3 separate regions of the Homo sapiens genome follow, and all the other regions are linked to region 1. The links are contacts of gene promoters, found by promoter capture Hi-C in human tissues and cell types (Jung and others, 2019). All regions are on one chromosome and are shown on one strand. The core of a region is centred on a gene start or on the middle of the fragment in contact, and the rest is flanking DNA. Distances in the headings are between cores, read along the strand shown.

The links. Contacts are between HindIII fragments. The study calls those that stand out against the background at their distance.
Region 2: a fragment that was not itself captured here is called in contact with the fragment with the promoter of ARL4C in region 1 in 1 of the 25 tissues and cell types used here (heart left ventricle).
Region 3: a contact is called between a fragment that was not itself captured here and the fragment with the promoter of ARL4C in region 1, in 1 of the 25 tissues and cell types used here (mesenchymal stem cells).

The regions. Positions count from the first base shown.
Region 1 is chr2:234,494,662-234,499,149 of GRCh38, reverse strand. It overlaps ARL4C (ARF like GTPase 4C), which reads left to right and starts at 2,069. Exons shown (of 2, transcript NM_001282431.2): 1 at 2,069-3,138; 2 at 3,314-4,488. The coding sequence starts at 2,564. The coding sequence ends at 3,344. RefSeq lists an enhancer at 1,034-1,807 and silencers at 1,992-2,281, 2,392-2,491. The HindIII fragment of the contact is 18,774 bases long and covers 1-4,488 here.
Region 2 is chr2:233,904,626-233,909,183 of GRCh38, reverse strand. No RefSeq gene overlaps it. Among named protein-coding and RNA genes, the nearest start is that of TRPM8, 10 kb to the left of the region's middle. The HindIII fragment of the contact is 4,889 bases long and covers 1-4,524 here.
Region 3 is chr2:235,091,890-235,096,511 of GRCh38, reverse strand. No RefSeq gene overlaps it. Among named protein-coding and RNA genes, the nearest start is that of SH3BP4, 140 kb to the right of the region's middle. The HindIII fragment of the contact is 3,221 bases long and covers 1,244-4,464 here.

The sequences.
Region 1 (4,488 bases), core at 820-3,319:
ATTTCAACCCCTGGGCCACATCCACTGGTGTGTTCCCTCCTCCTGGACTGCAGTCCTTGATCCAGGGTGCGTGCTCCAGGCTTTGGTTAGAGTTACTGGGAAAGAGTTGTACCTTTTCCTTTCCAGGATCTAAACCAAGGATGTGAGTCCAAGGCTGCCAGAAGGAAAAAGAATCAACACAGGGGAACACGGAGGAGGACTGGAGAGACACCTGCTCGAAAGACTCCTTTTGAGCTCCTGGGTCTAGCCATGCCTGAAGAGGACCTTTATCCTTAACTTTTCAGTGATGTCAGTGAATACATTTCCATTTTTATTTAAAATGAAGTAAGTGGCACAGTGCAGCCAATATTTTCTGTTGAACTCTATCCTTCGGGTGGCTCACTTTATTCCTCATTGAAGGAAATAGCGTGTGGGTAGAGTGGGATGTGAGGAAGAGGGCAGGCAGGTGCCCAGTTTTGTGCATACAGACCCTTGGTCCTGGAGCAGGCAGTGGGCCTCTAGGTTCTGCCTTAGCCGTCACGGGCGCCTAGGCCTTGTTACCTCACTGGACAACGTTGGGTGGAATGATAGGCAGGGTCCTTTCCAGCCTGATACTTCGTTTCCAGCCCCAAATCCACTCAGTAGAGTGGATGGTCGCTCCGGCTGCCACCTTGGGAATTCCAAGGATAGGGGTGGTGGTGGCTTGTCCTTCCTTCTACAGGTGAGGTCTTCTCACATGCTTTGGTACCAACGATATCATATGTCTTTTCGTGGTTTGTGAACAGAAGGTGATAAAGTATTTCTCTAAAATTCTAGCTTTTATTCATAAATTCTTAGCATTTTCATTTTCTTCTCCCTTGACCCCGTTTCCGTCGTTTCTGTCTCATAAGCTAGAGCTGGGAAGATGCGGTCGCCCATGCTGCGGCCTGCTGTCTCCTGCGGAGCAGCTCTCCCCAGATCTGTGTGTTTGCCATAATATACTCTCACTTTTCTCCGCACCCAGAGAGGATATACATTTGTTACATGTTTACAAACCAGAATAAAACCATTGAACTGAGGTGACAGGAGGTGGAACCCGTGGAATATCAGTGTTTGTAACCCACTGCGCCACCAGCTCCAAGCTGTAGACACATTTTCTTTCAGCCCCCGGGGCTGGTGTTGCCATTTCTGCGGAGTAGTTCACCTGCGGGCAGGTGGTTCTCAGTTCCCAAAGTCGGGTGGCAAGGGGTGCTCTCCCGAAATGCTGACGCTTCCCCTGGGATGTCAGCAGAGTCGATGCGGACGAAATGAGGTAGCCCAGGCGTGTCTGGGAGGGTGAGCTGTCCGAGCTACTTGGGGCAGGTAGGTCTTCTAATCCCCCATCGCGGCCTAGGTCCGACCCTGCCCCAACCGCCGCCACCGGGCAAGAAAGGCTGGGCCTCCAGGGTGCCCTGGGCACAGGCCTGGGCTCCGGAGGGCGGCGCTGGCCGGGTGCAGCCCCCTGGAACCCAGGCAGGAGGCGAGCCTGGGCGTCACTGGGGGCCGGGGCCGGCGACAGCCGCGGCGCGAGGGTGGGAGGGGACGCGCCCGGCTGGATCCAGAGCGCAGGCTGGCAGCTCACCGAGGCCAGCCCCGTCCCGTCCCTTCTGGGGTTTGGAGGCCCCAGCCTCGCCGCCCTCACTCCCCAGAGCGGCGCTCTCCCAGTCACCCTGGGGGCCGCCCTGCCCCGCCTCGCGCCCACAGAGCTGGGACCCCGGGACCCACTCCCTCAGGCAGGCTGCGTCGCCCACGGCTGCGGCCCGGAGGGGCAGGGGGCGGGCTAGGACCCGGGCGGGGATTCCGGGAGCCGAGAGCTATTTTTGCAAACGCGTCAGCCGCTGGGGAGGAAGAGCCGGCTCCGCGCCCATTGTGTCTGCGCGGCGCGGCGCGGGAGGGGCCGGGGGGCGGCGGGGGGCGGCGGGGACGCAGCGAAGCGCGCGAAAACGGCCGGCTGGGCGGGGAGGACCGCGCCTGACCCCCGGCGGCGGGCGGGGCGGGGCCCGGGGCGGGTCCGGGGGCGGGTCCGGGGCGGGGCGCGAGGGGGCGGGTCCGGGAGCTCTCCGGCCGCTGCAGGCTGGCGGCTGCTGCGGCGGCGCGGGGACTGTGAGGCTGCCGAGCGGACAGCGACTCCCGGGGAAGCCCGCGCTCCGGGAGCGGGAGCGGGAGCAGGAGCAGGAGCAGCGCCGTCCCAGGCCAGAGGCGAGCGCCGGGCGCCGGGAGAGCGGAGAGCCCGGGCAGCTGCCGGAGCGCGGGGGCGCGGCCCGAGGAAACCACAGAGCGAGCCCAGGCCTGGGGAGGGCGCCGAACATCTGAGGCGGCTTCGCGGGAGACAAAGCCGCGCGTAGAGACGCGATGCCCGCCGATCGCGAGCCCGGCCGGCGAGGGCGCGGGGACTGCGGCGTCTGAGCGCGCCAAGCCGTGCGCCCGCGGGGACGCCGAGCCCCGGGGCCGGTGCGGGCGGCGGCGGGCGGGGCCCAGGTGCGCCCGGCCGCGTCGGGCCCGTGACTGCTCGGGGGGCGGCGCCCTCCCGCCGCAGCCGCAGTGGCTGGCGCCGCAGCCAGGAGCCATGGGCAACATCTCCTCTAACATCTCGGCCTTCCAGTCCCTGCATATCGTCATGTTGGGCTTGGACTCGGCCGGCAAGACCACGGTGCTCTACCGGCTCAAGTTCAACGAGTTCGTGAACACGGTGCCCACCATCGGCTTCAACACCGAGAAGATCAAGCTGAGCAACGGCACGGCCAAGGGCATCAGCTGCCACTTCTGGGACGTGGGCGGCCAGGAGAAGCTGCGGCCGCTGTGGAAGTCCTACAGCCGCTGCACGGACGGCATCATCTACGTGGTGGACTCGGTGGACGTGGACCGGCTGGAGGAGGCCAAGACGGAGCTGCACAAGGTGACCAAGTTCGCCGAGAACCAGGGCACGCCGCTGCTGGTCATCGCCAACAAGCAGGACCTGCCCAAGTCGCTGCCGGTGGCAGAGATTGAGAAGCAGCTGGCGCTGCACGAGCTTATCCCGGCCACCACCTATCACGTCCAGCCGGCGTGCGCCATCATCGGCGAGGGCCTCACCGAGGGCATGGACAAGCTCTATGAGATGATCCTGAAACGCAGGAAGTCCCTCAAGCAGAAGAAGAAGCGGTAATGCGCCCGGAGCGACCGGGGAGCGAGCGAGTGCGTCAAGAAAGAATGAATGGATGGATGGATGGTTGGATGGATGGATGGATGGATGAGCGAGAACCCGCGCCCGCGAACAAAGAGCGAACCAAAGCGATGCTTCGAATTTTTAAAACGGAATCTCTGCACCCAAATGCAGGACTGGTGACTTAAGGAGCTGCGAAGTCTGATTTACCGGCCTACTCTCGACCTGCCCCCCACCCCCAGCTCAGGGGACCTTTTGTCTGAACGCCAGAGCTACTGACCAGGTCGGGGGGCCGCGGTGGGGAGTGGAAGAGCCGGTCCTGCTGTCCGCCCTCCCAGCCCCAGGTGGAAGGCTCAGTTGTCGGAAAGACAAAAGCGATTTCTTCCCACTCCTGCAGGGCCAGAAGTTCAGGCTGCCCCGCCTCCACTGGGGGATCGCACCTGTGAATTACCTGAGGTATGCATTTCCCAGAACCGTGGGCGTACCCACCTTGGGGGGCATGTTGGTTCTGGGGGGACCACCTCTCCTTGCATTCAGGGGCTGTGAAGCTGAGTAATTTTCGGTCACAGGGCAGGCCCCTGTTGAAATTTCATTTGTCCTGCTCTGGGCCCAAAGGTGGTGGTGGTTTGGGTCATCAGAGGACTGCCTGGGACGGTTCAGCGGGCACGGAGCGCTGTGCTGGCCTGGCTGGGGATGGCCGCGGAGGTGCCCTTTTCCTGGTGCTTTGTGGTGGCTGCAGAAGACCAGTTTTGTTGAGAACTGCTTTTCAGCCTGGAATCAGACATCTTCCAGATGGTTTGGACCCTGTCCATGTGTAGGTCATTATCACACAAAGAGACCAATAAAAATAAAAAAAATAAAAAAAAAAAAAGACGAACTATTGGAGGTGGTGGCCAATGATGCATTTACTGTTTGCAGGATAGTTAAAGGTGTTTAAAGGGTAAGGCTTTTGGTGTAAATGCTGGATGGGGTGTGTGTGTGTGTGGATATAGGGACCTCCCTCTGTACTGTGTACTGTGTAATCGGCATTAATACCTAGACTCATATGTATGGAATTTTAAATTCTCTTAGCCTACTGATTGGTTTGGATGAGCACACCAGCTGCAGGTGTGTGCTGAATTGCAAGATGGTATTTTTTTTTTTAACCAAGGGATGTCTCTTGTAATACTAACCGCGTGATAATGGGTTTTCAGACATGATGAAAAAAAAAAACTTTTACAAATGAATACTTACCTTAGAAATATTCACCTTAGGAAAAAAGACTTTGCTCTGCCCTTTTATATTCCTTTATGCTGCAAGTGGTGACATGTTCAGATTTCTAATTTGGTTCATTGTGGCCTATCTGGTTT
Region 2 (4,558 bases), core at 831-3,330, 590 kb after region 1:
ATTTGTTGAGTACTTGGTGTATGTCAGCACATTTCTAAGTGTTTTACCTGTACTGACTCACTGAAGCTCCCAAGAAACCTGTGAGTTGGTACTACTGGTATCATCAACCTCATTTTACAACTGAGGCACAAACAGATTAAGTAATTTACCCATGGTTACATAACCGGCGAGTGGTGGAGGCAGGCTTGAAATCCAGACCATCTGGTTCCAGGGTCTTTTTGCTTAACCTCTTTGCTGAACCTCACGAGGCGCACGTGTGCACATGCACACACACATACACACATGCACGTACTCAGAGTCACTCAGAGTAAGAGGTACAGGGAGACAGGTTGGCCCAGATGAAGCTCAAAGAGAAGTTGAGGCTGTTCCAGCTGCCTTCTTAAGCTATACCTTAAGCTTAAGGTGGGAGAAGTCATGTTTTAAGAAATCTCCAAGGATTATCTTTAATGTCTCCATTCTTGTGTCTAATAAGCACCTCTGACTTAATAGGTCCCAGAGTGTTTGATTCCAAGCCACACCCCCAATCCAAACCTGCATCTCTTCCCCACATCAGCTCATTACACTATTGGCCAACTAATTGCTCAGACCAGTATCCCGGAGTCATCTTTGGTTCTTCTCTTTTTCCCTGGCCCAGTCCACCAGTAACTTGTCATTTCTGCCTCCAAATCTGATTCAGTGTATTCCAAATCTGACCATTTCTCTGGTCACTGCTGCTGACCTCCTTCATTCAAGGTGCCACCATCTCTTTTCTAGAAGTTGGCGACAGCTCCTAGCTAGTCTGTTGGCTTCCAGTTTGTTCACAGGATCCATTCTCCACACCCTCTTCCAAAGTCATCCTTTCAAAATACTTCTTGGATTATATCAGTCCCCTTTTCAGACTGACAGGTGGCTTCCCATTGTAGTCAGCACAACCCACTTCATACGATGGTCTACAACAACCACTCCAAATGATGGTCTACAGCAACCCACTGCACATGATGGTCTCCAACAACCCACTGCACGTGATGGTCTACAACAACCCACTCAAATGATGGTCTCCAACAACCCACTCAAATGATGATCTACAACAACCCACTCCTTATGATGGTCTACAAAAACCCACTCAGGTGATGGTCTACAACAACCCACTCAGATGATGGTCTACAACAACCCACTCCCTATGATGGTCTACAAAAACCCACTCAGGTGATGGTCTACAACAACCCACTCCTTATGATGGTCTACAAAAACCCACTCGGATGATGGTCTACAACAACCCCCTCAGATGATGGTCTATGACAACCCACTCCCTATGATGATCTCCAACAACGCACTTCAAATGATGTTCTGCAACAACCCACTCCCTATGGTGGTTTACAACAACCCACTCAAATGACGGTCTACAGCAACCCACTCCTTATGATGGTCTAAAACAACCTACTCCAAATGATGATCTAGAGTAACCCACTCCCTATGATGTTCTACAACAGCCCACTCCCTATGATGATCTACAACAATCCACTCCAAATGATGATCTACAACAACCTATGACCCTGTCTAAAACAACCTATGACCTTGTCTCCCTATGCTCTCTCCCTTGATTCCTTCTTGGGCTCTTAGTGCTTTCATTTTATATCACAACTCCTTCCCCCAGATCTTCTAGTACCTGGCTGCCTAAAAATGTATAAGGCAGAGGTTAAGAGCTCAGGCTTCAAAAGAGGACTGCCTGGGTGAAAATTCCAAATTCACCATTTTACCTGTGTAATCTTGAGCAACTTTTGTAACTTCTCTGAGCTTATTTCTTCATCTAGAAAACAATGAAAATAATAATAGTATCTACCCAGAGTTCTTGTGAAAACTAAATGAGTCAACCCCATGTAAAGCACACAAAGCAATATTTTTCTTAAGAACTGTTCACCATTGTGATTATAACTATTAATATTATCAATATGATTATTAACAGCAAATAAATTATGATTTGAGTTTGGACTTTGAAGAGTCAGACCGCTGCTCATCATTGGCTATGTGAACTTGGTAACCTCTCTGTGCAAATAGAAAATAGAGTTTTCTTCTTTGTTAAGTAGCAATTTGGCAAATGTAAATGTAACAAATGGAAATTTACATCATCCTCAGAGATATTTAATTAGTTAATACAAATAAAGCACTCAAAATAGTGCGTGGCACACAGCAAGCATTCTGAAGTGCTCATCTTTTTTTTTTTTTTTTTTTTTTTTGAGACGGAGTTTCGTTCTTGTTGCCCAGGCTGGAGTGCAATGGCGTGATCTCGGCTCACCGCAACCTCCTCCTCCCGGGTTCAAGGGATTCTCCTGCCTCAGCCCCCCGAGTAGCTGAGATTACAGGCATGTGCCACCACACCTGGTTACTTTATTGTATTTTTGGTAGAGACGGGGTTTCTCCATGTTGGCCAGGTTGGTCTTGAAATCCTGACCTCAGGTGATCCGCCTGCCTTGGCCTCCCAAAGTGCTGGGATTACAGGCATGAACCACTGCGCCCGCCCCATCATCATCATTATTATATTCTGATTATTATTATCTTCTTCCAGGTGTCTGTTCAGCCATTCTATCATCCAGAGGCCCTTGCTCATCCCCCACCCTAGCCACTCTGTCATATCAGCTTGCCTTGTTTTTCATTATTGCATTGAGCACTACTTGACATTAGTATCTTCAGTGCAGTGTTACACATCATTGATGGTCTCTCTCCCCTTCTAGCCTTTTCACCAGTGTGTCCCCAGTGCCAGAAGCAGAGACTGGAACATGGTGGGACTCAATAAAAGTCAGATGAACAAGCGTCACATTTTTCATGTGTGGAAAGGCTCTGTTTGCATGAGGACTCTGTTCCCTGGGATTGTTGTTCTGCTATGCAAGTTCATGGCCAACCATCATTGCACATCAAACCTTAATGGAAGGTCTCAGTGATTTTTCCCTAAGTGCATTTTGCTGTTCTCAAGTTGCTGCTGCTCAAGCAGCTGTCTGCATAGAGCATGGACCTCAATGGCAATTCTCCCTTGGCTCATGTGCTCAGACACACCCTCTCATATTTACCTTCTCCTTTTACTCATTGATTTATTCTTTAGTTTATTACTCAATTCATTCATTAACCTAGCAGTGATTTAGTGCCAACTATGTACGGGCCTAATGCAGAGCACTGAAGTTATAAAGATTCATACGAATCGGTGCCTACTTGAAAGGAGTTACAATATAGCCAAGGAGGAAGATACAGAAATGGAGAATTAAAACGCAGTGGGTTTACTGATGGATGTAGGCATTGTTTCTATAGGAGTCCCCAAAAGGGACAGCAACATGGCCCAGGGGAATGAGAAAAGACTGCCCCTCCACCATGTTCCTGAAGGAGCATGAACCAAAACACAGGGTGAGGATCAGCAAATCGATGGGTGTGGCTAGAGCTTGGAGTAAAGGGTGGGGTGTATGTGGAGGACAGGAGATTGAGTAGGTGGGCAGGGGGACTTCTATGGCCTGGTAGAGGACTTTGGAACTTATCTTGCAAGCAACACGTAAGTACTGAACAGGCTTATCACAAGATCAATGCCAGATTTGGGATTTAGGAGATCGCCCCGTGTCTCTCTGGTGGTCAAGTCAAGAATGGAAACAAAGGAACAATATGGTCCCAACAAGAGGTGAGGAGAGTGATAATGATGATGGAGAGAAGGGATGATTTTTTTAAACATTAGGAGGCCTGGATGATTGATTGACATAGGATATGAAAGAAAAGGAAGAATTAGCCAAGCTTTCTAGTTCTGTCTTGGGAGACTGGTTGCAATTCCTTCTGACTCACTATCACTGCGCTCACTGTAATTGCAGTAGAAACTCTTACCAACACCATCAGAACCAGTAGTCAGTTTCTTTGAGGAGCATCAAAAAAGTTAGACTCTTGAGAAGGCCGGGCGCACTGACTCAAGCCTGTAATCCCAGCAATTTGGGAGACTGAGGCGGGTGGATCACAAGGTCAGGAGATTGAGACCATCCTGGCTAACATAGTGAAACCCCATCTCTACTAAAAAATACAAAAAAAAAATTAGCTGGGCATGGTGGTGGGCATCTGTAGTCCCAGCTACTCAGGAGGCTGAGGCAGGAGAATGGCGTGAACCTGGGAGGCGGAGGCGGAGCTTGCAGTGAGCAGAGATCGTGCCACTGCCCTCCAGGCTGGGAGACAGAACGAGACTCCGTCTAAAAAAAAAAACTGTAGTAGACAGAATAATGGCCCCCAAAAGACGTCTGCATCCTAATTCCTAGAACCTGTGAATATGTCAAGTCACATGGAAAGGGGAATTAAGGTTGCAGACGGCAGATGCAGACCACACTAAGGTTGCAGACGGCACTAAGGTTGCTAACCAGCAGATCTTAAAACAGGGAGATTATTTTGGACTATCTGGGTAGGTCCAGTGGCATCACAATGCAAAAGGGAGACAGGAGACTCAGTATCAGAGAAAGAAATGGAAGCAGAATCAGACAGATGCAACACGGCTGGCTTTGAGGACAGAGGAAGAGGCCATAAGCCAAGGAATATGGGCAGCCTCTAGATGTTGGAAAAAGCAAGGAAA
Region 3 (4,622 bases), core at 1,605-4,104, 600 kb before region 1:
TCTGTACTCCACTTCTGTGATTTCCTCCCTTCAAGAGTGCCATAGAAATGAAATGAGACAATGTGTGACCTTTCAGGGTTGGCTTTCCCCACTCAGCATAATTCCCTTGAGATCCTTCCAAGTGGTTTGTTGTATGCATTAATAGTTTGAGTTTTTTTAATTGCTGAGTAGTACGCCATGGTATGGATGCACCACAGATTTTTTGTTTGTTTTTGAGACAGGGCATTACTCTGTCACCCAGGCTGAAGTGCGGTGGGGCGACCTTGGCTTATTGCAACCTCTATCTCCTGGGCTCAAGCCATCCTCCCACCTCAGCCTCCTGAGTAGCTGGGACCACAGGCATGTGCCACCACGCCTGGCTAATTTCTGTATTTTCTGTAGAGACAGGGTTTTGCCATGTTGCCCAGGCTGGTCTTGAACTCCTGAGCTCAAGTGATCCTGGCTTCAAGTGATCTTCCCATCTCGGCCTCCCAAAGTGCTGGGATTACCAGTGTGAGCCACTATGCCCGGCCTTACCACAGTTTTTTAACCATACACCCATGATGGATTACTTTGACTGTTTCCAGTTTTTGGCTATCACAAACAAGTCTATAATGAACACTGATGAACAAGTTTTTGTGTGAATAAAAGTTCTCATTTCTTAGGGTTAAATACCCAAGGGTACAACTGCTGGGCCATATGGCAAGTTCATGCTTGGTTTTGTAAGAAATGACTCATCCTCTTTTCCAGAGGATCTGTACCATTTCACATTCCCACCAGTCACATATGAGTGACCCAGCTTCTTCTCATCCTTGTCAACATTTGGCATGGTCGTTATTTTTATGTTAGCTACTCTGGCAGGTGTGTCTCCCATCCTATTCTGGTTTTATTTTACATTTTTCTGGCTGATCATGTTGTTCAGCCTTTCATGCGCTTATTTGCCATCTGCATATCATCACTGTAAGAGTTCTTCATGTATTCTAGAGGCAAGTCCTTTGTCAGATACGTGCTTTGCAAATATTCTTTCCCAGTCTACAGCTTGTTTCTTCAGTCTCTTAATGTGGTCTGTCAGAGAGCAAACATCTTTAACTATCACGAGGCCCAATTGATCAATTTCCTCTATTGTGGATGGTGATTTGGTGTCAAGTCAAAGAACTCTGACTAGCCCCGGATTTCAAAGATTCTCTCCTTGGGTTTTTTTCAAAAGTTTATAGTTCTATGTTTTATGTTTAAGTCCATGATCCATTCTGAGATAATTGTATATGGTGTGAGGTTTAGGTCAAGGTTCATTTTTGTTTGTTTGTTTTTGGACGATGGATGTCCATAGACAGTAGGCGTGTGCTAATTTTAAATAATTGATTCCTGTCAGTTGGTAATTGTATTTTTATTTTGTTTTTGTATTTTGCTCCCACAGGAGTCCCATGCTAAAGAGTGAGGGGAGAAGAAGGGAAAAAAGAGGAGATTGGCAAATCAAGGTTAAGGCATTCTTGAATCAAATACAAATAACACAACACAACATTCAAACCTTAGTTCCCACCTTGCCCTACCTACAGCGCTATGAGGATAAAGTGAAGGCGTGAGTGAGAAACTGCTTACAACCATGAAACCCATAAAGCAGACTTGGGTCATGGTTTGGATGTAAGTCCTGTCCCATGTGTGGCCAGTGTTAGAATGAAATCCCGCTGGGTAATTTACAATCACTTGTATTTATAAAGCATATTTATCTTAAAGTGCTTTCACATACAGTCTGCCTTTTGCCCTCACTGGTATTTAGTCATTTTCAGTCAAAAATATTGAGCCTATATTTATTAAATATATCTAATAAATTTAATAAATACATGAAATACAGTTAATAAATTTAATAAATATATTTAATAAATATAGGCTCAATATTTTATTAAATAAATCAGTCCTTTTATTAAATAAATCAATCCATTTATTAAATAAATCAGCATTTATTGAACATTTTATTAGCATTTACAGTGACAATAAAAGGGAGACTAGACACAGAGAGTAACATAAAAGCATATATGTTAACCTAAAGAATTGGAAATGTGATCTGTCATTCTTTTTTTTTTTTTTTTTTCGAGACAGAGTCTCACTCTGTCACCCAGGCTGCAGTGCAGTGGTGTGATCTCGGCTCACTGCAACCTCCGCTTCCCAGGTTCAAGCAACTCTCTGCCTCAGCGTCCCAAGTAGTTGGGATTACAGGCAACTGCCACCATGCCTGGCTAATTTTTGTATTATTAGTAGAGACGGGATTTCACCATTTTGGCCAGGCTAGTCTTGAACTCCTGACCTTGTGATCTACCTGACTCGGCCCAAAATGCTGGGATTACAGGCATGAGCCATCACGCTCGGCCATGATCTGTCATTCTTTAACAATGATTCTCATGTGACTACATACACTGAGCCTCAATGCAAGTCAGCCTCAAGTGCAGCTGGGCTGGCCACACAAGCAGGCACCTCTTGGGGGGAAGGGCCTTGACCTGGGTGAATTCTTTGCACCCCAGCTCTGGTTTCCAGAAACCCGATTTTGTTATTACACTGACAATGCCTATCTTTCTCAAGGACAGACACAAGTTAACTAGACTCATAAAAACTGATGTGTAAACCCTGAGGCTAATTTATCCATCAATAAGAAGAGAGGTGATTGTTGATGGGACAGAATGGTGTCCGTGTGACATGGCTCAGGGAACACTTTCTTCTGTAGGCTGTTTGCCAGGGCAGCTGGAATGATGACACTGCTTGATGCACAAAGAATTGGAAGAAGGTTGACCTTGGGATGTTCCTCTCATCCTAGGGGGTATGTGCCAAGGATACTTGACTGCACAAACCCCCTGAGGCAAGCTTCATTCAGCCCCAGGGAGCTAGAAGGGTCCTGCCAATGCTTGTGTCTAGGTTTCCACACCTGCCCAACACCCTTTCAACTCCAGCATGACCCAGTTCAGATGACTGGGTTTCTTTTGATTCATTTAAGATCCCGTTCTACCTCGCTTCCTCAACCTCACTGCCAGCTGGCATCTGATGTGCTCCCAAACTCTTCATCCTCATCTTCTGGAAAATCCCCTAAGTTTGCTGCCTCAGTGGTGAATGAAGTCCAGGGTGTGGATTTTACCAGCACTACTCCAGATGCTTGGAAATCCCCATCAGTGCTGCCCCAGGTTCTGGTTATCGATGCACATATTGGGTTTCTATAGATGCTGGCATAGGCTCTCTGAAATGAAAAATGGAGATTTGGGGGAAAGAAAGCTGTTTTAAAAAATAATAATAGCAGTACTTTGTTGTGTTTTTGTTTGTTTGTTGTTTTTTTGTTTTGGTTTGGTTTGGTTTTACATTGCCATGGGTGGACCTCTAGTAATTCCTCCCAATCCCTCATTCTGCAGCAGCTGCTCATCAGCAAGACGAGGTAGATGGCTGCAGAGCAGCGCAGGGACTCAGGCACAGACAGTGAGGCCTGCCCGCCTGTACCGGCAGAAGCCAGCAGGTTACCCAGAGCACACTCTTCCTTGTTTATATTGGATCACTCTGGTCCTGATGAGCTGAAGAATACCTGCAATTATCTCCAAATCCCAATGGGTTCTTCCAAGGCTTCAAAGTGCAAGGAAACCCACATCTGATTAACTATCACTGCTGCCGAGGGCAGGCATTCAGCTGCATGGAAGGCACGAAACCGCATTCGGAAGAAAGCAGTTTCAAACTCTCACAAGCTTCTAATTTCATTTAGTGCTCATAAGCACCCCATGGGGCAGATAATCCGTCCCACATGAGAGACGAAGCCACCAGTGATGAAATAAAAGGCTGCCCAAGGTCACTCTGGAACTGAGACCGGGACCGGACCTGTCTCCAAGGCCAGCGCGCCCTTGGTGTGCCTGACCTTGATGCACACGGCAAAAGAGCAAACAGGATTTGCTGCATCTGTGAGGATGCCCTGGTGCTTGTGGGGAGGAGGAGGAAGCATTGAGCTCGTGAACAGCATGAAAAGTCCAAGCCTTTGCAAAATTATTGAACTTGTGGAATTGGCATGGCCTTCAACAAATATGCCTCTCTTCTGCTAACAGAGTCCTAAGAGAACTGAACGTGGGGTGGGGATTCCAAATGGGCCTGGAGGACGCCTGCAAGGCTTCCAGGAGAGGGGCCTCCACCTCCTCACGTTCTTGGCACCTGGCGGGAACTCTGTGGTCACTCTGTCACTCTCACTCGCCTCTGAGCGATTTTAGGTTTTTGGAGCTGAGGAGCTGCCCCCAGCAGACCCACTGGCTGGGCAGGAGTCTTCCTGGGATGGCTGTGGGCTGAAGGCTGCCCTCTGTCCCGGTGCCACCTTCTAGGCAAATGCCGGCTGATGGGGACTGTGTTCCCAAAGCCATTGTTTAACAGTGACCTGGCAGCCTGGTCACTGAACTTCCCTGCAGTCAAACGTGGGTGTTAGGAAAGGATTTTGAAAAACATCCATACCACAATGTGGCTGCCAGGGTTACACGCTGGACACGTGAAATGTTAGGGCCAGGTCCTGTTTTCAGAGACTCTCAGGTTGGGGAAGGTGGAGCTTGTTCTTTTGATGAGGGGCATCCACTCTGCCAGCCTCCTGCCCCACGCCACTGCCTCTCTCCTCCAGCCACGCCCTGAATATATTCTTATCTGAA